Linked DNA regions of Homo sapiens: region 2 is linked to region 1. The links are contacts of gene promoters, found by promoter capture Hi-C in blood cells and fetal thymus (Javierre and others, 2016). All regions are on one chromosome and are shown on one strand. Each heading gives the region's core, a stretch centred on a gene start or on the middle of the fragment in contact. The rest is flanking DNA. Distances are from core to core; before and after follow the strand shown. Region 1 holds the start of NAV2-AS3 (NAV2 antisense RNA 3). Region 2 overlaps NAV2 (neuron navigator 2).

Region 1 (6,787 bases), core at 3,318-5,817:
CATTGAAGAAACTTTGCAGCAGTGCAGTCTATATGCCATGGTCACGTCATCCTATGCTCTGAACCAAGGTGGTGTGTGTTGTGGCCACAGGAGACTGTTCCAGGCTTGAGTGACATAAGGGAAGATTTTACTCACGATGTACATTGAACTCCCAAATCCTCCTAAAAAGAACAAGTCGCTATCAACTTGGTGACATCCTGAAGAGCTGACAGTCCTGGAGGACAGTAGGAAATCGCATAAAGGGTGCCCCAATTTTGCATCAAGCAGAAAGGTAGGAAACTGGTTGGATTCTCTAAGTCACATTTCCCACTGGCCTCTGTCAGCGGTTGTTGGAAGCATTCCCCCAAAGGCATGAAGGCCAAAGATGTGTGGGTCTGTCCGAAGAATTGCCCACTAAGTCATAAAAATGAAAGATTACATTTCTTACCCCTCTTCCACCTCACATCCTCTTGTTTCTTAACTGTGTGGATTGTGCAGTCTGTCTTATTTATGGTTAAAGTCCTGTTACCACAGGGAACCCCAACTGAGAAAGGCATTGTCACCTTGGGCTTTCTCTCCAAAGGTTGTTGTTGGTTTTGTTTCATCTTGTGTCAGTTTGGGGTGACCCATAATCAGGAAGAGGCAATACTGTGTTCTTCGCTTGAATTTCACCTTTATTTGATTCTAAAATATGTAAGAATATGCTGTGAGTAGGATATTAGAGTCACTGCAACATGTCTCTGAACTTGTCGTGGGGGACAAAGGTTTTGATAAATATGCCACGTTTGCCTGAACATTTATGCCTAAAAACTCATTGAGGACAAAGTGGTTTCCATGTGTTTCCTTAGCAAAATTTTAAGTATTCACTAAATTTTAGTGCTGCAGTTTTATAATTCGCACTGAGAAATTAAGCCCTTTTTTTTTCCAGTCATATTTTTGCATTTCAGAGCATTCTCTTCTTCCTTGAGCCAATGTGGCCACTGCTTTTCTTTTCAGAGAGGTCAACTTTTTTCTTTTTTTTTTTTTTTTTTTTTTTGAGACAGGGTTTCACTCCGGTTGCCCAGGCTGGAGTGCAATGGCACAGTCTCGGCTCACTGCAACCTCTGCCTCCCGGGTTCAAGCAATTCTCCTGCTTCAGTCTCCCGAGTAGCTGGGATTACAGGCGCCTGCCACCACGCCCAGCTCATTTTGTTTTTTTTTGTTTTTTTTGGTTTTTTTTAGTAGAAACGGGGTTTCACTATGTTAGCCAGGCAGGTCTCAAGCTCCTGACCTCTGGTGATCCACCCACCTCAGCCTCCCAAAGTGCTGGGACTACAGGCGTGAGCCACCACACCCAGCAAGGTCAGTTTTTTTTTCAAAAGGATGCAGGCAGCTTTGTTAGACTCGCTGGCCGGTGCATCCTCCTACGACCCGGAGTGAAGTTGATTCATCTGTCTTCTCAGAGGCCCTAAACTAAAGGGATTCTTTTCCAGGTCTGTCCAGAAACTCGATTTGCATCCTAATAAACTCAGAGAATGAATGTCACACTGTATTATAACTGAGTAGAGGGGCCTGTGAAAGCATATGATGTTTGGGGATCTGGATGTTGATGACATTGCTCAACAACAAGGGCTTTTCGTCAGCCCCCATTAGTTTTTTCAATCTAATGCAACAAAGTATGTGTTGATATATACGTCCAGATATTTATATTGTTATTGGCAAGGAATATTACACACACATTTGTAATTATTCCATGTTTCTGTGTCCACGTTTCAACCAAAAGTGTGTCCAAAAAATAGAGACAGGCTGACGTGTCTTCGAAGAAAAGTAATTATGTAGGATTGATTTGTTTTCTGTTTGTTCTTTCATTTCTTGCATCTGAGAGGTTTTTTTTTTTTTTTTTTTTTTATGTCATGCTCTATTAGAAATGCACTCGACTAGAGCAAGTCGGTACGTATTTCTTTCCTTCTCTGTCCCCTCTCTCCTCACACAGTTCTTGACAGAGGTGATTTCTGGTGAGATTAGTGGCAGTCAGTTTGTATTACTTATGCAGGCCATGTTGAACTGTGAACTTTGGAAATGAGAAGCCACCTTTCGCCGCTTCTGAAGGTGACTCACAAAGCCAGTTTCACTTGGTTCCACATTGTTGCATCATTACATTTAAAGAAAGGGAAGAAATCTGTTTACTAAATGTTAGACTTGAAGTCTGGAGTATTTGTTCTAGCAGGTCCTGTTAGATTCCACAGCTTTTTCATAGCTAGTGTCAGTTACCAACCTATTCTGTAGAGAAAGTTCCTTTTGTAAAAGGCATGTTGCCTTCACAGGTCTGTCTTGACTGGAGGGATGGTGAGGACTACCCTTCAAGTCTGGCCAGCTCCCAGAGGTCTGGGATGACTCAGACAGGACTAGGAAATGGTGTGTTCTGAAAAATCTGTAGAAGAAAGTACTGATGAGAAAATGCCCACCAAAAATTGAATACAGAATGTTGGAAGAATCGAAAAGTCGACGTTCTCTTTGAAACAGAAGCCAGAGCCTGTTACTCATTAGTACCTTCATGTATCCCCCATCTTACAGGCAGAGGCCTGGCATCCAAGATGTTCAAAACCATCCCCCAGGTCCCATGCAGCCCAGTTCCTAGCTGTGATCCCAGTGTTCTAACAATAGTGAACTACTTACCCTTCTCTGAACATACCTTCCCCTCTGCCATTTCTCTCTGCTTTTGCATAGGTTATCCATGTGTCTAGATGGATCCTCTTTTGGCTGGCAAACTCCTCCGCACCCTTTAGGGCCAACTTAAACAGCACTCCTCTGCGACGCTTTCTCCCGTGTGTTCTCAAAGCCAGTCATGCATTCATCTGTTATACCACTTTTATGTAGCAGTAGAGCTATTTGCATGTCTTAGTCCCTAGTAGGTTTTGAGCTTCACCAGAGCAGGAACTAGGTCTTGCCACTCCTGTAAGCAGCTAATGATTAGGAAGTGCTCCCTATATGCCAGGCACTGGGCTTTCTAAACATATGCACTGTCTCATTTAACCTGCCACAATCCTATGAGGGAACTTAAACTAGAAGAAATTGCGCTGAAATGCGACAGTTGGGATTTGAACTCACCTGCCTGCGCTGGGATCTTAACCACAGCTCTGTTTTCCTCATCTGAACAATAGAGATGACAATAACACTTGATAAGATTATTTTGAAGGTTGAATGCCATGATTTATGTGAAGCACTTAACACAGTACCCAGTGAGCATTTAGTACCATTAGTGCTTACTAACAATGATGTATACTAGGTCCTTCAGCCAGCAAGGGGCAGAGAAGGCATTTGAACAACTTGGGTCTAACAACAGTCATGTTCCTTAACCCTGATGCTCATGGGCCACCCCAGGGAAGCAAGAAAAACACCCCACAGACACCTTGTCCCTTTAGCAGAGGCTCTGACTCTTTCCATCCAGGGGTCTCTGGGGAAGCTTAAGAAGGTGGATGCGGAGAGCCGCCTCCACCCACCTATCATGGCAGAACTCGGGAGGGTAATGGGGAGATGGTTCAGTAGCTTAGCAACTGAGGCAAGAGTCCACTCAGAAGACATTAGGATGTTACCAGCACCTCATTAGGCTCCAGCACTAATTATTTATCTCTCCAAGGAGAAGGAAAGTGTGGCATGGGTGTTCTGAGATTGAGTTCTTGGATCAGCTGGTTCCTTTGCTTGTGACCTCAGACAAGTCATTTCTTCTTCACCCAGTGTGAGCCTCTTATAAAAGCTCCTCAAGTGGAGGATGAGGCCATCAGTCCTCTGGCTCCCTGAACCTTCAGAAACACAAGCTTTTTTAACACTTCTGGGCAAAAGCCAGTGTTTCAGATAAACACACCCGTGGCTGCTTCATCTGTAAATTATGCTTTCTTAAGGCCTTCACTTTGTTAAGGCAGTCTATATTGATGTATACAATAGCCAATTCCTATACAAATTTTGGTCCAGCAAACCCAAATTTGTATATTTTTCATTGACTGTATAATACAGGAGTTATTTAAAAATATATACAGAGCTGTTTGTAAATCATTGTAATTGGTGGATAATAATTTAGAAACATTTTAAATTAATTTCTTGAGTGTGAGGCTGGCTCTAACCACAGCTCTGTCTCTGGTGCTGTGCCGTCTCCCAAGGAGAGACATACAACAGAATTTATTTCAAAGAATATTGTTGTTTAAAAAACAGTTGAACATGTGTTTACATATCTCTAAAAGAAGAGGTAAGTTCCCCATTTTCCTTATCACTCTGCCTGCCCTCCCTCTACATGCGCACGATAAGTGAAATAGACTTGCAGTCTTGAAACTAGATCATTGTCAGACTAGTTGCATTCACCTCCCTGACTTTCATTTCTTCCTACAGTTTGAGAAGGCAGAAGATCCTGATTTAGCTTTGCCTTTCCCCTCCCCTCTGCCAAAACAAAGTCAGAATTCCCAACAGCAAGCCCAGCTCACATGTTCAGTTCCATTTCAGTCCCATTTCTCAGAGGCTTTCCCGCTTTTCTGGGGTTGTCGTTTTCTGATACATCCACGTTGCACCCGGGTGTAGCTGGGCTGGGGCTGCAACGTTTCTCAGCATTCTGTGTCTGGAATGCTCACCAGGCCCCACAGTCTGGCCTTAGCAGGAAGCCAGGGTTCTGTACATGTGGGCCTTGTCTACATGCCTGTGTGTGTGTAATTACCCAACCGTGTGTGTTGTTTCACCAGCAATAAAAATCCAGCAGGGAAATGAATGCTAAAATTAGTTTGTTTGTCCTTTGACAAGATCTCCCCAGTTGAAAGAATTTTGTTTATCTAACTGGCTGGGCAGACTTGGCTAAGATCAAAATTAACTGCCTTGCTTAATGGTGTAATAGATGGTATTTTGAAGAGCTTCCACTGAGTTCTCCTTGAAAGGACGTGGGGTCTAGAAAGTCCAGCCTCTGGCAAAGTTATGGCATTTTGGTGTAGGTGTTTTTTCCTCCTTGTGCTACCTGTAGGATGGATGCCCATAACCCATTACTCTACCCTGAGTCACTCTATCTGTTGGAGGGTGGCTGGATGGATGGATGATGGGTAGATTGGCAGATCGACAGTTTAATTTGCTTGTCATATGTCTTAAATGTAAGTTTGTTAAAGCTTAAGAGGAAAGAAAACCTGTAATCAGTGTTCTTGCAAAAAAAATTTGCACAGCCCTATGGCTGTGTCTTTGGGCTTCATTCATTCATGTGTTCATTCATTCAACAAAAACAGCATTTAATAAGCACCTAGTATGTACTAAGCTCATGGGATATAGATTTGAACAAAATAAGAATCTCTGCCTGCAAAGAGCTTACTATTTAGTGTGAGAGACATGCATTGAAGGGCAATTAAACAAATAATTATTTAACTATAGCTGTAATCATTTTTTATATTTTTATTGAGATTTAATTCATATATCATGAAATTCACCATTTTATTTATTTATTTTTGGGGTTTTCTTTTTTGTTTTGTTTTTGTTTTTGTTTTGTTTTGTTTTGTTTTTTGAGACGGAATCTCACTCTGTCGCCCAGGCTGGAGAGCAGTGGCACGATCTCGGCTCACTGCAACCTCCACCTCCCGGGTTCAAGTGATTCTCCTGCCTCAGCCTCCCAAGTAGCTGGGACTACAACAGGTGCATGCCACGTGCCCGGCTAAAAATTCACCATTTTAAAGCATACAATTTGATGGTTTTTAATGTATTCACAGAGTGGTTTTTAAAATGATAAAGTTGAGTGAAAACTTCAGTCTCTTCTGTTGCATTTTCAGCACAAGCACAAACACTTAGTCTGATTTACTCCAACAGATTTCTCATTATGTTGATATTGTGACCTTGGGGATCATTAATGTCATAAAGGGAGGAGCAGGGAACATTGGAGGTGTTGAATTTAGCCACAGTAGCTTAGAAGCTTCCTGGGTTCCTCTTACCCATTCTGGAAGGTGCTTTTCACATGAGATAACTCCAGTGAGAATTTTCTTCTCTGCCCCTTACTTGAACTTCCTGGTCTGGGCAGCCTCGTCTGCATCTCATAATTCTGTTCTTGAAAAATATATCCTAAAAAGGTCCCCAGCTACAGGTAGAAGAAATTCAAGGATTGGGAACCCTCAGGGTCGACTCCATATATGCAAAAGTTAAAATGGCAAGTGCAATTAAGCTTTCCATGACGTAGCTCAGCTGACCCTGTTTCAGAAAAATAATGACTCATTGGTCCTCTTACTACATATTACTTGATTTGAAATGTAAAATGCTTGCATTTTCAGATACCTTGCAGGGTGATCTGATGGGGCCCATAAGGGATTGAAGGGATCCAAGTTTGGTTTCTGGCTCTGCCCAAGTTTTGCTTTGCCTTCCTGTTCTCCTCTGAAGATGAGGGAAATGACAAAACCAGTCTCCTTTATGGGGGCTGTGAGGAAGCCAAGGTAGATATGAGGTACAGCTGCCTTGGACTGAGCTACCTCCTACTAGTGGCTAAGCTTTCAGGAACTTGTCTGGTTGGTAGACAATCAGCCATCTGTACAGAAAGTTCCAGACATCCTCCCTCTCAAGAACAGCACTGATTTCATCAGAAGACAGCTTTGTAGTATTACCAAAAAAAGAATAAACTAGCATTAGTGTTGTTCAGAGTTTTGTGGCAACCCCCTGAAAACATCAGTATCAAGGGTGAAATTCACCTCATGATCGTGACAACCGTAATGTCTTCCACTTATATAGCCTTACACAAATTTCAGTGCACTTTCATATTCCTTATCTCACTAATTCTCATGCCCATGTTGTGATATTCCCACATGTCACAGGCCGTGATAGTCCTATAGCC
Region 2 (6,480 bases), core at 1,766-4,265, 130 kb after region 1:
GGGTGGAGAGGAAAAAGGCCTGGCAAAGGAAGCTGAGGTTCTAGGTTCAAATCGGGCTCTGCCTGACAGCCTTTCTCAGCGGGCTCTGCTCTTCAGGCCTTGATTGGCCCATCTGGTAAATGAGGGGGTGGGGCTAGGTGGCCCCAGCTCCTTCCCCTTGGAAAGACGTGGTTTTGTTGGTTCAGAGCTCAGCTTCACACTGTTGTCAGCACCTTGCTCTCTGTACCCTCTCCACGGCAGGATTCGCGGGAGGGCAGGGAGAGCAGACAGACAGACAGACAGCCGTGGCCACCCTAGAGACACACTGCAGCCGTGGTGGCCCACAGGACTCTTTAGTCTCTGTGCTCTAAGGCCCCCTGCAGAGTCCTCTCTGCAGAACTACAGGTGACACTGCCCTGGCTGTGAGCATGTCCTGCCACATGGACCAAGTGGGCCAAACTAGTGGGCCGTGGAATTGAACATACTTAGTTTCCAATTCTGGCTTCTCTCCTCCCTGGGCCTATTTCCTCATCTGTAAATCACGGATATTAGTACTTCCTCTTGGAGTTGCACGGTGGTTAAGCAAGGTATTCGTAAAGCATTTCTCACGGTACCTGGCACAAAGTCAGCTGGAAGATGTGGTGGTGTTAAAGGAGAAAAATATAAAGCCTATACCTAGCTGTGTAATATACAGAGCCTCGTGTTGGGCCAGTCTAGGTTTCTGTTCTTCAAAGAATGTATGTATTTCTTGAAATTGCTAGTAATGGTCACTAAAATCATTTTACCATTAGATAATTGAGGCTTAAGAAAAGGAGCTTGGAGGCATGGTGTTGATCTTACCATAAAATTAAGTGATAATATAGTTTACTGTTTTAAGAGCCAATTAGCTATTATGGAATTTTGAGAAATACATGACAAGAGAGAAGCCCTCATAATTTCACTGCCTATGTGCAACCTCTGTTAGCAATTTGCTGTTTTGAAAAGGAGTAGCACTTCTATATAGGGGCTGTAAGAGTCAGACCCATTTCAAGAAACGGGGTTTTATTGAGCCAGGACCAGCCCAGCACAGTGGCTCACACCTATAATCCCAGACCTTTGGGAGACCAAGGCACGAGGATTGTTTGAGCCCAGAAGTTCAAGACCAGCCTGGGCAATATAGAGAGATCCCATCTCTTAAAAAAAAATGTTTTAAAAATTAGCCAGACATGGTGGCACACAAGTAGTCTCAGCTACTTGGGAGGCTGAGGCAGGAGCATCACTTGAGCCCGGGAGATTGAGGCCACAGGGAGCATGATCATGCCACTATACTCCAGCCTGAGCAACATTGCAAAACCTTGTCTCAATACAAAATCAAAGTAAATATTAAGCCAGGGCCATTGTGACCTCTGCCTGCAGTGTTGGTGCCCAGAACCCAAGGTATGTAGGCAGTATTCTTTGGGTAGATGCACCAAATGGAGTACTAGAGCTGGCTCTTGAAAGCTGATAGCACCTTTTTCCAACTCCACATCCAGTGACATCATGTCAGTGGTTTGAAGTCAGTCATGGTGGGATTGTACCATGGATGTTGGCAAATGCTTCAAATCAGGTCATTGTTTTTCCCCAAAAGCCAGTTTTTCAAATTGGATTATCAAGGCTCAGAGTTTAGGGTCACACGGTGAGTCAGTGGCAGAGCTGAGACATGAACCTAGATCAGCCTGACTCCAAAGCCTGTATTCTAGACCACTGGGTCATGCTGCCTTCAGCCTTAGCACCTCGAACTGTCTGCATCTTGGATGACTTCCTGAGCATGGAATAGAAGTGGAATTACTCCATCAGGGAAGGCATGATGCTGGATTTGGGGAGTTTTTCAGAAAGCTGCAAAACTGGGGCTACGAGAGAGATCTGGGCCACTTCCAGACTGTTCCTTCTTTGCCTGTTTTCAGCTCTATGGAAGGCGCGCCCCCTGGGAGGATCCTGCCAAGTGGGTGATGGACACATATCCATGGGCAGCCAGCCCACAACAGCACGAGTGGCCTCCCCTGCTGCAGTTACGGCCTGAGGATGTCGGCTTCGACGGCTACTCCATGCCTCGGGAGGGATCGACAAGCAAGCAGATGCCCCCCAGTGATGCTGAAGGTGACCCGCTGGTGAGTCCTCAGCCACCAGAGCAGCTCAGCATTCCTTTAGCACTTACTGTGTGTTGGGTATGATGCAGAGCCTCTGGAAATACAAAGGTGACTAAATCCAGCCTTGCTTTGGAAGGCTGGACCCAAATGACTGGGCCATTTTTGCCAATATTTTCTTCCATGGTTTTAGTTTTTCACTAAAAACTTCTCCTCTGAAATTTTTTTCTGGTATTAGATAACAGATTAAGAATTGATTTTTCCCCTTAAATGTTCTTATACCTACTGTCTCTATACAACACTTTGCCCTCTGATTTGGGATGCCACCTCTATTACCTACTATCCTATTACTTTGATCTCTCCTACCGATAGCAGAGCAGAGGAAGAGATTGCTAAGGACCAGAAGCCCAAGGCAAATGATAGGGTAAACAGGGAGAGGTCTGAGGGCAGGAGGGACTCACAGAGGGGAGGAGGCCTGAATATGAGTCCCATGGCCATTGAGATGAGCTAAGTCTTTCACACTGTTTAAGCTTCTTATTTATTCGGCTGTTGCTAAAACAATAAAGGCCCTTTAAGAAGCACCCAGGCTGGGGTGGCTCACACCTGTAATCCCAGCACTTTGAGAGGCCAAGGCGGGTGGATCGAGGTCAGGAGATCGAGACCATCCTGGCTAACATGGTGAAACACCGTCTCTACTAAAAATATAAAAATTTAGCTGGGCGTGGTGGCAGGCACCTGTAGTCCCAGCTACTCGGGAGGCTGAGGCAGGAGAATGGCGTGAACCCGGGAGGTGGAGCTTGCAGTGAGACGAGATCGCGCCACTGCACTCCAGCCTGGGCAACAGAGCAAGACTCCGTCTCAAAAAAAAAAAAAAAAAAAAAAAAGCACCCGGGCTGGGTGTGGTGGCTCATGCCTGTAGTCCCAGCACTTTTGGTGGGCAGTTACAGCCTGGGCAACGTAACAAAACCTCTTCTCTACAAAAAATACAAAAATTAACTGGGCATGGTGGCACATGCCTATAGTCCCAGCTACTCAGGAGGCTGAGGTGGGAGGAGGGCTTGAGCCTGGGAGGCAGAGTTTGCAGTGAGCCAAGATTGTGCCACTGCACTCCAGCCTGGTTGATAGAACCAAACCTTGTCTCAAACAAACAAAAGAAACACCCGGGCCAATAACAGTAGTATTTCTAATCGATTGTAGTACTCTACCAATATAAGACCCACACAGAGTCACACTGCTAAATTAGACCTAACAAATCAAAAGCCCAGTAAAATAAAAAGGAAGCAAATATACCAAAACCTCCCATGGTTAAAGGACTATTATCATGCCTTAAATTTAGCCCCAAGCTTTCTTGGCAGGCATAGCAAAAAGAAAACATAACAGAGAATATTATTTACATTACCTAATGAAAGAAAATATTATAAGAGATGTAGCAGGATTAAAAGACAACTGATTTACTGTTCTATTCCTAGCAGCTAATTAAGTCCCTAGATTAAAAAAATAATAATAATATTAATAGGCGATTCAGGTTGTCTGCCATCCTACTGTTTGGTGGGATGTAGCTGTGGTTCTGTTGAAGATTGCAGTGGGAACTGTATTTTTTAAGGATTTATTATTTGTGTTGCCATGTACAACCTAGTTTGCAATATTTATAACAGTAGTCTTACAAAGGAAAGAAGCATACTTTAAACAGCCGTTTGCAACGTTAACCATTGCTGAAAGCCAAAGTCACGGAGGTATTTTTTGCAGGGGCAAACTCATGAGGTCTTAACTTACATAGAAAATAGAATTTAGTATATTTAGAGGAAAGAATGGCCAGCCCATCCCTAAACAATCTTTTCTGAGCCAGTAACATTTGTATCACTGGTTGGACACAGAAGGTGTGTAGGTAAGACCCAGGATTCTTGGAAATGCAGAAACAGATTTCTCCTTCCAACCCCAGGCCCCCAGAAGTGAGCTGTGCCAGTCCAGCCACTTCCATTACCGAGTTAGATATTTGGTATTTCTCCTCAGTTCTGCTCTTTCTGCCCAGGGCCATATGTCTCTATTATCATAGCTCTCTTCTGTATTAATCCTTCTCACTCATGAGACTGAGACTTCCATGAAAACAGAATTTACTTGCTTTTGTTCCAGAACCATATACTGTGGACACACTGGGAGTGTTTAATGAGTGAATAAGTAATCCCAGTTGCCAAGGATTGTCCATTATACTTCAGCTCTGCCTCTTCCCTAGTTATGGCTGTGCAGATGGACACCAGATGATGGTGCTTCTGCAGCCTGGCGCATCTGGGTAGACTCTGCAAAGCATCCTGAGGGGCAGCTGGATTGTATGCCCAGCTGCACCACATCTTGGCCCTAGCTCAGAGAGGCCCCATATTCCTGACTTACTTCCTATATGAAATATAAAATACATACACACAATTTACAGTTATAAATAAAAGTAGTTTTTATTCCCTCTCCCACTCCCAAACAAGTGACCCGTAGTATGTAAACAAGGGCAGATTCAAGAACACTGTCGCTAAACTCTTTTAAGTTAGATGATGATGACAACAGATGACATTTATTAAGCGCTTACTATATGCCAGGCCAGCCCCTTTTCTAAGGGTTTAATACACATTATATCATTTTATTCCCTACTTCAACCCTATGAGAAGTGTTGCCATTCTCCCCATTCCACAGATGACGAACTGCTGGCTCAGATACCTTAGGTAACTTGCCCAGAGATTCCTGAATCATAAGCGAAGGCTCTTTGCACTCGGAGCCTTTGCTTGTAACTGGTGCTCCCCCTCACCTCCCTGCCAAGGCTTCCACAGGAGCTGCAGCACAGTTGGCTCCAGTCTGACCTGGCCAGAGCAAGGAGAAGAGATGGGTTTGATGCTTGTTGAAGTGGGAGGGGGTCCATGTGCTTCCGATGTCAGTGATGCTGATGCCAAGTTCCAGGAACAGGGATGCTCAGCCACACCTTCATCCAGGCCGAGGGCTAGGCCTGAAAGGTGTGCCCCTCCTAAATAAAAAATAAATAAGCTATGTATAGAGATCATCATTTTGTTTTCAGTGCTCTACGTATATTAACTCAATCCACCCATAACATTATAGGGCAGGTACTATTATTATTCACATTTGACCAGTAAAGAAACAAGTATAAAGAGGTTAAGTAATGTGTTCAAAGTCATGCAGCTAGTAATTGGTGAAGCTGGGATTTGAACCCTAGAAGCCTGGCCCAAAGTCCATGTTCTTGTCCACTGCCTCCACTGTGGGCTGTTATCCCAGGTGAGTCTGGAGGAGGTGGCATGACCTTTTAGGAGTCCAGGGTGGGCGGCCAACTAGACAGAAAGCAGCTCATGCTTCTCCACTCTTCCCCTAGATGAACATGCTGATGAGGCTGCAGGAGGCAGCCAACTACTCCAGCCCCCAGAGCTATGACAGCGACTCCAACAGCAACAGCCATCACGATGACATCTTGGACTCCTCTTTGGAGTCCACTCTGTGACAGGGGCCCGGAGCCCAGCGCCCTCCTCTTCTCCTCACCGCATTCCACCTGCATCCCCCACATCACCCTGAAGATGACTTCCTGAGCCAGCCCCCAGCCACAGCCTTAGAGCTGCGGGAACACCGAGACCCCCCGTCCTTCAGCCTCGACCTGGGTGCAGGCATCCCGGGCCAGCTGCCTGCGGACCGCTTCCTTCCACAGCGAGAACTGCACTACCTTCTGTTGTACTTTAATTATTGTTTTGCCTTGTTGCTGTGACCTCCCTAAGACACTGAAGATACTTCTCGGGAAAGGATCATCGCCGTTGAAATGAAAAGAGAGACAGAGAGAAAAAAAAAAAGAGAACCCACATGAAGCTCTGAAACCAAACAGCATCCTGCCATGAGCTTCCCAGAGACAGAAGAGACTGGAGCAAAGTCGGAAACACAGAGAAGCACGGCTTCCCCTCAGCACAGACCCTCCAGACTGGGTCTCAGAGCCGTGCCACCCACCCTCCCACACAGCCGGCCACAGGGAGAACTGGTGCTAACCAGGGTGCTTGCTTTGGTCACGTTCAACGCACTACAGAGCTACGACACAGGGAAACCTTAGGAGCAAATAAACCGTGCTTTCATGTTTTTTAAATGGTGCTTTCCTTACCCGAGAGGTATTTTGCCTGTTCCAATCAAACCACCCCATTCAGGTCCATCAGCCTCTGATTAATATCCGTGAGAGTGAGTGACGGAGTGAGAGTGTGAGCGAGTGGATGTGGCTGTCAGTGCAGAACAGCATGTGTCTCTTTCCTTCTGATATATGAATGAATCAGGTTTTTTTTTTTTTTTTTCTGCAAACACTGTGTATAGTGAGACTTGTTCTACTTTGGAGAACAGGTTACCTTTTGAAAATGAGGTTGAGTTTCTTCCTTTCTGATGC

The links. Contacts are between HindIII fragments. The CHiCAGO score rates a contact against its expected background, and 5 or more counts as called.
Region 2: a fragment that was not itself captured here is called in contact with the fragment with the promoter of NAV2-AS3 in region 1 in 1 of 17 cell types (erythroblasts); the score reaches 5.3 in erythroblasts.

The regions. Positions count from the first base shown.
Region 1 is chr11:19,976,807-19,983,593 of GRCh38, forward strand. NAV2-AS3 (NAV2 antisense RNA 3) reads right to left here and starts at 4,568. Exons shown (of 2, transcript NR_174949.1): 1 at 4,431-4,568; 2 at 1,893-2,389. The region is part of intron 10 of NAV2 (neuron navigator 2); the gene reads left to right. RefSeq lists an enhancer at 1,675-2,874 and a silencer at 2,177-2,471. The HindIII fragment of the contact is 1,320 bases long and covers 3,772-5,091 here.
Region 2 is chr11:20,112,691-20,119,170 of GRCh38, forward strand. NAV2 (neuron navigator 2) reads left to right here. Exons shown (of 38, transcript NM_145117.5): 37 at 1,902-2,105; 38 at 5,443-6,480. The coding sequence ends at 5,568. It overlaps LOC107984418 (a long non-coding RNA gene), which reads right to left. Exons shown (of 3, transcript XR_001748477.2): 3 at 4,500-5,082. Among named protein-coding and RNA genes, the nearest start is that of DBX1, 45 kb to the right of the region's middle. RefSeq lists enhancers at 1-682, 1,487-1,988, 1,989-2,488. The HindIII fragment of the contact is 813 bases long and covers 2,610-3,422 here.